Linked DNA regions of Homo sapiens: region 1 is linked to region 2. Evidence: promoter capture Hi-C in 16 types of primary human blood cells and fetal thymus (Javierre and others, 2016). All regions are on one chromosome and are shown on one strand. The core of a region is centred on a gene start or on the middle of the fragment in contact, and the rest is flanking DNA. Distances in the headings are between cores, read along the strand shown.

Evidence for each region. Contacts are between HindIII fragments. The CHiCAGO score rates a contact against its expected background, and 5 or more counts as called.
Region 1: a fragment that was not itself captured here is called in contact with the fragment with the promoter of LYPD3 in region 2 in 1 of 17 cell types (activated CD4 T cells); the score reaches 5.7 in activated CD4 T cells.

The regions. Positions count from the first base shown.
Region 1 is chr19:43,794,359-43,799,535 of GRCh38, forward strand. It overlaps LYPD5 (LY6/PLAUR domain containing 5), which reads right to left. Exons shown (of 5, transcript NM_001031749.3): 3 at 4,454-4,630; 4 at 4,097-4,243; 5 at 1,569-3,471. The coding sequence ends at 3,233. Among named protein-coding and RNA genes, the nearest start is that of LYPD5, 5.5 kb to the right of the region's middle. RefSeq lists an enhancer at 4,538-4,707. The HindIII fragment of the contact is 6,084 bases long and covers 1-5,177 here.
Region 2 is chr19:43,461,748-43,466,995 of GRCh38, forward strand. LYPD3 (LY6/PLAUR domain containing 3) reads right to left here and starts at 3,861. Exons shown (of 5, transcript NM_014400.3): 1 at 3,746-3,861; 2 at 2,578-2,709; 3 at 1,852-2,022; 4 at 1,379-1,540; 5 at 1-100. The coding sequence starts at 3,824. RefSeq lists enhancers at 1,390-1,449, 1,480-1,529, 2,082-2,613 and a silencer at 1,680-1,839. The HindIII fragment of the contact is 14,493 bases long and covers 2,850-5,248 here.

The DNA.
Region 1 (5,177 bases), core at 1,512-4,011, 330 kb after region 2:
TATCATATATTACATGTAATTATATGTGCATATAATTATATACACATACAACATATATATACACACATACACACACACACATACACCCTTATATATGATTATGGCAGCCTTCTACTTCTCCAACGCATTCTTTTTTTTGTTTTTTTGAGACAGAGTCTCTGTGTGTTGCCCAGGCTTCAATGCAATGGCATGATCTCAGCTCACTGCAACTTTTGCCTCCTGGGTTCAAGTGATTCTCCTGCCTCAGCCTCCCAAGTAGCTGGGACTACAGGTGCATGCCCGGCTAATTTTTGTATTTTCAGTAGAGACGGGATTTCACCATGTTGGCCAGGCTAGTCTTGAACTCCTGACCTCAGGTGATCCGCCCAACCCAGCCTCACAAAGTGCTGGGATTACAGGCATGAGCCACCACGCTGGCTCCAACACATTCTGTGTTAGTCTTGGATTAACCACAGAAACAGAACCAGTAGACAATCTATAATATAAGATTTATTGCAAAGAATTGGCTTATGTGGCCTGGCTAGGCAGGTCAGAAAGAGCAAGCTGGAATCTCAGGCATGGGCTGAAGCAGCTGTCCATAGGTGCAGTTTTTTTCTTCCTCAGAGAAGCCTCATCTCTGCTCCTAAGGCCTTTCAGCTGATAGAGTCAGGCCCACCCAAACTGTCTAGAACAATCTCCCTTCCTCAAAGTCAACTGATTATGGACTTTAATCACATCTACGAAATACCCTCACATCAACACACTGATTAGTGTTTGACTGAATAACTGGAACTGTCACATAGGTAAGCTGACACATCAAACTGGCCATCCCAACTTCAGACCACATTTGCAATAAAATCCAAAATCTGGCTGGGCATGGTGACTCACACCTGTAATCTCAGCACATTGGGAGACTGAGGCAGGAGGACTGCTTGAGCCCAGGAGTTTGAGACTAGCCTGGGCAGCATAGTGGGGGCCCCATCTCTATGAAAAATACAAAAATTAGCAGGGTGTGGTGGCACACACCTATAGTCCCAGCTACTAGGGAGGCTGAGGTGGGAGGATTGCTTGAGCCTGGGAGATTGAGGCCACGGTGAGCTGATTGTGCCACTGCACTCCAGCCTGGGATAGAGCGAGACCTTGTCTCTAATAAATACACAAGCAAAATCCAAAGTTCGCTTTGGATTGCTAGCCCATCAAAAAGGCTAGCTCCTTGAAGGTGGGAATTTTTGCCACTTTAGTTCCCTGCTGCATGCCCAGCAACTGGAACAGTGCCTTGCACATAGTAGGTGCTCAGTAAATGTGAAGGATGAATGAAGACATCCAGCTTCCCCTTGTATGTCAGGATGTAAAGACACCTGAAGCCCTTGTCACATGGCCTTACAGGAGCATAGGAGCGGAGTGTTTCTGAATTGCCCCCCTTCCCACAAGTCTACTTGCTGACATGGAGCGAGAAGACACGGGAGTCTACTCTTGCTATGCACTTACTCTGAAAATTGCTCTCTCACTGTGCTTTGGGCATCTTGTCTGTAAAACAGGAAGGTGTCTTAGTCCCTTCAGGCTGCTGTAACAAAATACCATAGACTGTATGGCTTATACACAACAGAAATTTATGTCTCATAGCTCTGGAGTCTGGGAAGTCTGCAATCAATGCACCAGCAGATTCGATGGCTGGTGAGAACCCACTTTCTTGCTTATAGGCACCTGCTGGCTGTGTTCTCATGTGGTGGAAGGGGCAAGGCAGCTCTCCAGGGCCTCTTTTATAAGGGCACTAATCCTATTCATGGGGGCTCCACCCTCATGATCTCACCACCTCCCAAAGGCCCCACCTCCCAGTAATATCACTTTGGTAATTAGGTTTCAAAAGATGAATTTTGGGGAGACACAAACATTCAGACAATAGCAGGATGCAACTTACTTTTTTGCTTCTCTCACTGAGTTGCTGGAAAGATCAAGTGGCAAAAAGCATGTGAAAGAACATGGTCAAGCATGTGCACAGAGAACATGCTAAAGGATCCCATCTCTATGAAGTTCATGCAGTTATGAAAGTGTCCTGCACTCATGAAAGTGTCCTGCACTCCTTGTGCTCCTTCCTCCCTCAGACCTTTGTCCAGGCTGTCTCCTCTACCTAGAATGCGCTTCCTCCTGCTTCTTTTTGCCAGCTACTATTGATCCTTTAGGATTTTGCTCAAGGGTGAATTCCTCCAGGAAGTCTTCCCTGATCTTTATAGCTTGGAGAATTTCACCTCGCTGAACTTTGCCTTGTGTGTTTTTCTGTGAAGTTAATCGGCACTCATGTGTTTAGGAGGTGGGGTTGCTTAGCAGTTCGTGGGGCTGGGAATCTGGTCCCTGAATCCATACTCACTAGATACACAAGCTCAACCAAGTGCTTTTGCCTCTCAGTTTGTTGACCTGTGACTTAGGGCTTATGACAAGTAGCCCATTTACACTGGGCCACTGCTGTGTCCCAAGTACTAAATGTTCATCTCGTTGAATCCTCACTGCAACTACTGTGAAGTAGTTCTTGTCATGTTATAGAGTTTATTTTCACCTCCACCTTATAGGTGAGAAAATATTGGCACAGAGAGCTCAAGTAACTCACCCACAGTCTCTGCAGGCTGAATGGTGGAGCTGGGATTTGAACCCATGCAGCTTAGCTCCAGAGCCTGGCTTAAGTAACTCACCCATGGTCTCTGTAGGCTGAATGCTGGAGCTGGGATTTGAACCCATGCAGCTTAGCTCCAGAGCCTGGCTTAAGTAACTCGCTCATGGTCTCTGCAGGCTGAATGGTGGAGCTGGGATTTGAACCCATGCAGCTTAGCTCCAGAGCCTGGCCTACTAACTGTTAGGGCATACTGCTTATTGGGCTTCTCATGATGACACTAATAAAGACATCATTGTATAGCTCCCTCCTAGAGCTGCGACAGGCTCTGGAGGGAGAGCACAGGAAGCCGTGTTATGGGGTGCCTGGTGCCTGGCTGGTGCTCAGTGAGTAACAGCTGTGATCAGAATTGCTCTTCATCGGGGCACGACATGGCTGTTTTGCCCTCCCCGGGGATGCTGGTGACTGTGTCCAGTTTCTTCCAGTACTGTTGGCCAGGTTGTGGGGCACAAGGGCGGGAGAGATGGAAGGCCAGAGGGACAGGAGTGCAATTCTTACTTTAACATCATTTTCCAGTGAGCTATGTGATAGGGGCTGAAGCAGCAAGAATGAGGTGTGTGAGCCCTGTCCCCAGCATCCTGGAGGGGCGGTCTATGCTGAGAGCCCCACCAGCAGGAGGACTGGGAGGAGCAGGGCCAGGACCTGTAGTGCTCGGGGAGGGGTGGTGGCTGAAGCACTGGTGAAGGGCTGGGTCATGGATTTCCTGTTGCAGAGGTACCCCTCACAGCAGGAGCCCTGGAGGTCGATGGCTGTCCAGGGGCTGGTGGTGCCCTCGGTGGTGCAGGAGGGCCGGTGGCAGGTTCTGATGTACACAGGGACTGAGAAATTGCCTGGAGGTGGGCAAAGCAGTGAGGAACGGTCAGAACTGAGGGAGACAGCTGCACCTGAACCTTCACCTTGGTAGCTAGGGCCATGCCTCGGTCCTCAGACTTGCTTCAGGTTTTCCTCCTAAGACCAGGGCCAGGCCTCCCTCAGACCAGGGCCATGCCTCTTCCCTCAGAACAGGGTCGTGCCTCCTCCCTCAGACCAGGGCCATGCCTCTTCCCTCAGACCAGGGGCCATGCCTCCTCCCCCAGACCAGGGTTATGCCTCCTCCCTCAGACCAGGGCATGGCCTCCTTCCTCAGAGCAGGGCCAGGCTTCTCCCTCAGACCAGGGTCTTGCCTCCTCCCTCAGACCAGGGTCATGCCTCCTCCCTCAGACCAGGGTCATGCCTCCTCCCTCAGACCAGGGTCATGCCTCCTCCCTCAGACCAGGGCCAAATCTTCTCCCTCAGACCAGGGCCAAATCTTCTCCCTCAGACCAGGGTCAAACCTTCTCCCTCAGACCAGGGTCATGCCTCCCACCTCAGAGCAGGGCCATGTCTCCCTGTTGGGCCTGTCTGGTATCACTACCCTCATGGCTGCCCTGCCTCCATATCCCTTGCCCAGGCCCTTCCACCCTTCCAGCCCCTTACCAACTGTCATTCTGCCATTGCCCTGGAAGCAGGCGGTCTGGTCCTGGTGACACTGGACTCGTCGGGACCTGCCGATAGCGCAGTCATCCTGGTGGACCCCGATACAGGCGTAGCACTCGGCGCCGCTGAGCGTCGGCGGGTCGGGTGCTGGCAAGAGAGCGTAGATGCACACTCAGGCAGTGGTACCCTGGCACAGTCGTGCGGGCTGCGCACTGCGCCAGAGCCCGCGCCTAGCACGTCTCGGGGGTTGGGATCCTAGCGCGCCAAGAGCAGGCGCCCAGCGGAGGCCACGCCTTCCCCGAGGCTGCCAGGCCTCTCATCGTCCCTCCCGGAGCCCAGCCCCGCTCTCCCGCGCACCTTGGCTCAGGTTGGGGAGGGCGTCATGAGTCATGAGGTGGGCGTTGCATTTGTCAGTTGTGCAGCCGCGCACCACCGAGTAGTCTGGCGGCAGCGCGTCCGCGTTCGATTGCGTCTGGCCCGCAGGAGGCCCGGTCCAGCAGCCCTTCCGCACCAGGGTCACCGGCGCGCGATACCCTGGGGGCGGGATCGGGGCTCGTGCTCTGCTTCCCGAAACCCTTCTCCCTCCAGTCTCAGCGTTCTTCCTCCTCCCTCTATCCTTTCACTTTCACCTACACCTCCTCCCCTCCCTCCTTCCCTCCTTCCTCTCACCCCCAGACCTTTTCCCCCGAGTTCTTCTCTTCCTCCACTCTTCCTCCCTGTGCGCCTCTCCCACCTTCTCTTCCTTGCTTCCCCATTGTTTCCTCCCCTCACCGCTCGTCCCTCATCCACTTTTTCTTTTGTGGGGCGGAGGACGGAGCCTCGCTCTGTCGCCAGGCTGGAGTGCAGTGACCCGATTTCGGCTCACTGCAACCTCCGCTTCCCGGATTCAAGCGATTCTCGTGCCTCAGCCTCCCGAGTAGCTGGGATTACAGGTGCCCGCCACCACGCCCAGCTAACTTTTTGTATATTTAGTAGAGACGGGGTTTTGCCATGTTGGCCAGGCTGGTCTCAAACTTCTGACCTCGTGATTCGCCAGCCTCTGCCTCCCAAAGTGCTAGAGTTACAGGCCTGAGCCACTGCC
Region 2 (5,248 bases), core at 2,611-5,110:
CAGGAGCCACTGAGCGTGAACCCTGGGCCTGTTACTCCATCCCGAGTGCAGAATTCATCCTGGACACAGCCCCGGACAGGCAAGGACACAGTCACATTAGCTGCAGGAAGGAGACACAGATAGGTCAGTGGCTGGAGGGAGAGAGGTTGACATGGCCAGAACAAAACTTAGAGGCATCAGACAAGAACAGAGAACCTGACCGGGCGTGGTGGCTCACGCCTGTAATCCCAGCACTTTGGGAAGCCGAGGCAGGTGGATCACTGGGCAACAGAGTGAGACTCTGTCTTGCAAAAAAAAAAAAGAACAGAGAACCCCCAAAATGAGACAGAAAGTCTCTGCATCCATTAATCCCAAAATCTCAACTCAGGTCCTACTATGAGAAACAGACAGACTCACTGTCTTTGGCACATGGTGGATTAACATTTTCCATTGTGCTTTGAATGGAAATGTGTGTAGGCTGAACCAAAAGTAGGGTTTAAAACAAAGGCTTAGACTGAGATACAAGACCTCTCACAAGACCACAGTGCAGAACAAACTTCCTCTACAACCCTCTCACCATTATCCCCTTAGCCTTCACCCTGGCTTTTACCTCCCCATCAGAATTTACTCTTAGAGTCAGAGTTACATCTCCACACCAGGCTCAGTGGTTCACGGCTGTAATCCCAGCACTCTGGGAGACCTAGGCAGGGGGATCTCTTAGCCCAAGAGTTCAATACCAGCCTGGGTAACATGGCAAGACCCCACTGTTACCAAAAATAAAAGGAACCAGTCGTGGCGGTGCACCCTGTAGTCCCAGCTACTTGGGAGGCTGAGGCGGGAGGACTGCTTGAGCCCAAGAGGTAGAGGCTGCAGTGAGCTATGATTGCGCCACTACACTCCAGGCTAGGCGATAGAGCAAGATGCTGTCTTTAAAAAAAAATAGTAATAATAAAATAAAAAAGAACTACATCTTCCATAGCATAACTGGCAGGGGATGGGATTTGAAGAACTTCATTTTCCATGGTTACATTTCTCAATAGTCTGGGACAGGCGGGGGACCCCTTGAGTTTTAAGGGCTAAGAACTAGAGATTCCCCGCAGTGCCTGGGCAGAAGCTTAGAGGCTTAAATACCTCTTAAGTACCTGGCAGCCCTCTATGGAAATGCATTTCCCTCCAAAACACTCTGGGACAAAGCATCACTATCCCCACACTATTAATATGTTGGGGGAAGGGACTGCATTTTCCATGATGCCCTACGATACAAGCACCTAGGCCCCACGATTCCCAGAATGCGTCGCAGGTTAAGGAAACGCTTTGGGTAAAGGGCTCCCTACCGCCCAGGGTGCTTCAGAAGGGCTACCACAACTCCCGTAGGTCCCGTGCTCCGGGGCTCCCTCACCTGCCGTCAAGGTGACGTTGCCGTCGAAGCAGCCCTTGTAGACATGATCGCTGGCGTTGTAGCAGCTCACGACCGGCGGCGATGTACCCTGGCACGCCTCCCGGCTCAGGCCCACACAGCTGTAGCACTCCACGCCGTTGGGCGGGTATGCACTCTCATTACCTGCGAGGGGAGCCGAGAGGAAGAAAAGGTGTCGAAAGGGTTCGGGAACCGCAGCTCGTCCTCTAGCCCCGCCCCTAAGGCCTGGCCCCGGCACTATCGATGACCCCGCCTACTAGTAGCCCCGCCCCAGCGCGCAACCTCGCGGCGCCTACAGCCAGAAAGTCCCTCCTGCTGCCTCTTGGCCCCGCCCCAGAGTGTGACCCCACCCCCAGCCCAGGTCGAGTACTCCCGCCTCTGCCACGGCTCCACCTCTATCTTGGCAGGCCCGAATGTGGCTCCGCCCCCGCAGCTACGGCCCGGCCCCCACGGACCTGCCGGGTCGAGCGCCCGCGAGGTGAGGTTGAGCTTGGCGTTGCAGCGATCCTGAGCGCATTGCTGCAGCTGGATGAACGCCAGAAGCCCGTGAAGATCCAGGCCGCGGTCATTCTTGCCGGGGAGTCCCGAACCGCAACCCCGCACTGCCAGCGAGAATTGTCCGTGGACTAGGGAGAGGGACAAGGGCGGGATTAGCTGTGGGCGTGGTCTCAGATGGGGCGTGGCCCAGAGTTGGGTAGGGTCTGGGAGGGGCGGGGCCTCAAATAGGCCAACACCACAGGACCGACAGGCAGGAATTGGCGGATGGACGCCCCCAAAGAGCCGCTCAGAGCGGAAAGAACGACCGAAGCAGGGAGGAGCGGGGTCACGGAACGGGGGCGGAACCTCAAAGAGCTGAGTCGGAGGAGACAGCCTGGTTGACAGGCAGGGATGGGGAGGTCTCATTGGTGGAGCAGAAAAAGTGCATAGGACGTGACCTCGTTCCAAACCCGAGCTCTCCCCGTCCGCCCCACCCAGTTCTCAACTCTCTGCTCCTCGCGCTTGTAATTGTTAATAGAGAAGGCCTGGCCTGCAAGGCTGTGTCGTAGGGTCCCGGCCAGGCTGAAAGGGAGGGGTGGGGCCGCGTTAAAGGGGCGTGGCCAGATCCAGAAAGGACTATAAGGAGGCGGGGCTGGGCCGGAGGAGCCTGCAGTGGTGTGCGTGGCCCGGGGGTCCCCACTCACTGGTCTCCACCGCCCCCACGGCCTCGGTGCAGACGTCCACGCCCGGCGCGCACTTCACTGTCTTCATCTTGTTCGGGGAGCATCCGTCATCTGCTTTCTGCACGCAGCTGTAGCACTCCAGGGCCTGCGCTCCTGGGGGAGCGGAGCCGAATAGACCTGAGCCCTCCTTGCTAAAGCGTCCACCCCCAAGGAGAAATAGTCCTTCCCATGCCCTCTGTCCCGGGATTAGACAGTCTTATTGCACACACTTTTCCAGGGCAGGAGTAGGGAAAAGCTTTCCACAAATCTGGAAGCACGGGAATCACTGGACCCTTTTCCTTCACACCCACTATGCCAACTGTGGGCACATCCTTCCGACAGCCCTGTATGCCCACTGTAGGCGATCCCCGCCATGAAGCCCCTCATCCCGGGGTAGGAAGGATACCTCCTCACGGTTTTCTGCTCAGAATGAGAGAACTTTTCCCACAGTGTGTGGGAGAACTTTTCCCACAGTAGACTGTGCTCAGTGAGGGATCCCTTCCCACAGCCCCCTTCTGCTCAAATGAGAGAACACTACCCACAGCTTCTCTGCCCAGGACAGGGAACACTTTTTTCTTTTTTTCTTTTTTTCTTTTTTTTTTTTTTGAGACGGAGTCTCGCTCTGTCGCCAGGCTGGAGTGCAGTGGCGCAATCTCGGCTCACTGCAACCTCCCCTCCTGGATTCAAACGATTCTCCTGCCTCAGCCTCCCGAGTAGCTGGGACTACAGGCTCGCGCTACCGCGCCCAGCTAATTTTTGTATTTTTAGTAGAGACAGGGTTTCACCATGTTGGCCAGGCTGGTCTCGATCGTTTGACCTCATGATCCGCCTGCCTCGGCCTCCCAAAGTGCTGAGATTACAGGCATGAACCACCGCGCCCGGCCTAGGAACAGGGGACTTCTTTCTGCAGCTTCAGGATAGGAAAATTTTGCCCACAGCTCCCCTTGTCCGTGGTGGGGAACCCTTCCTACGGCCCATGGTGGAGGACCCTTCCCTCTGCCTCCCTTGCTTAGGATGGGGGAACTTTGCCCACAGTGCCCTCTGCTTATGTGGGGATCCTTCCCACAGCCTTCTCTGTACGGGGCCAGAGGAGCCTCCTCCCTAAGAGCCCCCACTCTACCCCCTCCACCTCTCCGGGCAGCAGACCCACCTCCGCGAAGCAGCAGCAGCAGCAGCCAGCCTGCAGTCCAGATCATGGCCTGGGCACCTGCTTTCCTGGCGGGGTCCATGGCTCCGTCCTGCTCCCTTGGCGTCCCCCCTGGATGTGCCGCCTCCGAGCTCGGGCCCTCTTACCTGAGCCCAGGATGAGTAACCTCGCCCCAGGCAACCCCAGCCTTGCCCAACCGGGCCAACTCAGCGTCGGCTGTGGGGCGGGGCCCCGCCCCTAGGCGCGTCATCCAAGGGAGAGCGGTCCCTGCCCTGTGAAGTTGCCAAGGAGGGAAAGGGTGGGAGCTGAGGTTCCCTGACAGCTCGCGGGAGAAAGTCTGTGTGTGTTTGGAGTGGGAGAGTAGTGGGGCTTAAAGACAGGCTGGGGCTACTCGACATTCAGTGTTCGGTAACTGTTAAATGAGCATCTACAGTGTGCCCGGCTTTGGTCTAGGTAATGCTGGAGATGAAGACAGAACCAGTGCCTGTCCTGGCAGAGCTCACAGTCTGATGGGGGAGACAGATGCTAATCAAATAATCGTACAAATTGGTGTTTACCAAAGAGACTAAGACACTGAAGGAAAAAGTGTAGTGATACAAGGAGATGTGCAGTCTAGAAGTGGGGGCTGGTCGGTGAGGGCTTCCTTGAGGTTATCTGAGATGCAACCTCAAGGGCATGCAGGATGTAGCCAGCTAGAGCAGGTCAAGAGAGGGACACAGCCCTTTACAAGCAGAGGGAACAGCACGTGGGAGCACCTGGAGGTAGGAGGTAGGATGGACCATTCAAACATGGAAAGGAGAGCAGTGCTCCTGAGCTCAGAAGTCCATGAGAGAAGGGCAGGAACTGAGATGAAAGAGTCAGGCAGAGGCCGAGACACTCAGGGCATCAGAGGCCCCGACAAGAGATTTGGATTAATTTTGAGAATAGTAGAGAACCTTTAAGAGGGTCTAAATGAGCTGGAGGACATAATAGATTTGCTTCCTAATATGATCAACCTGAGAAATAGTGCAGCTAGCCATCAAGAAGTAAATGGAGGCCGGGCGCGGTGGCTCATGCCTGTAATCCCAGCAATTTGGGAGGCCGAGCTGGGTGGATCACTTGAGATCAGGAGTTTGAGACCAGCCTGGGCAACATGGCGAAACCTCATCTCTATTAAAAAAAAATAATAAATTTAAAAAAATTAGCCAGGTGCAGTGGCGTGCACCTGCTGTCCCAGCTACTCGGAAGGGTAGGGCAGGAGAATCACTTGAGCCCAGGAGGTGGAGGTTGCAGTGAGCTGAGATCACGCCACTGCACTCCAGCCTGGGCAACAGAGTGAGACCCTGTCTCAAAAAAAAAAATTTAAAAATTTAAAAATTAAAAAAAAGTAAATGGATCTGAGAGTAGGATATATGATTTTAAAAAAGGAAAAAGAAAAAGAAGTGAATGGCAAAAGAGAGTGGTTGGTTCGGCCAATGGAATACTACACAGCAATAGAAAAGATCCAACACCTGATATATGCAGCAA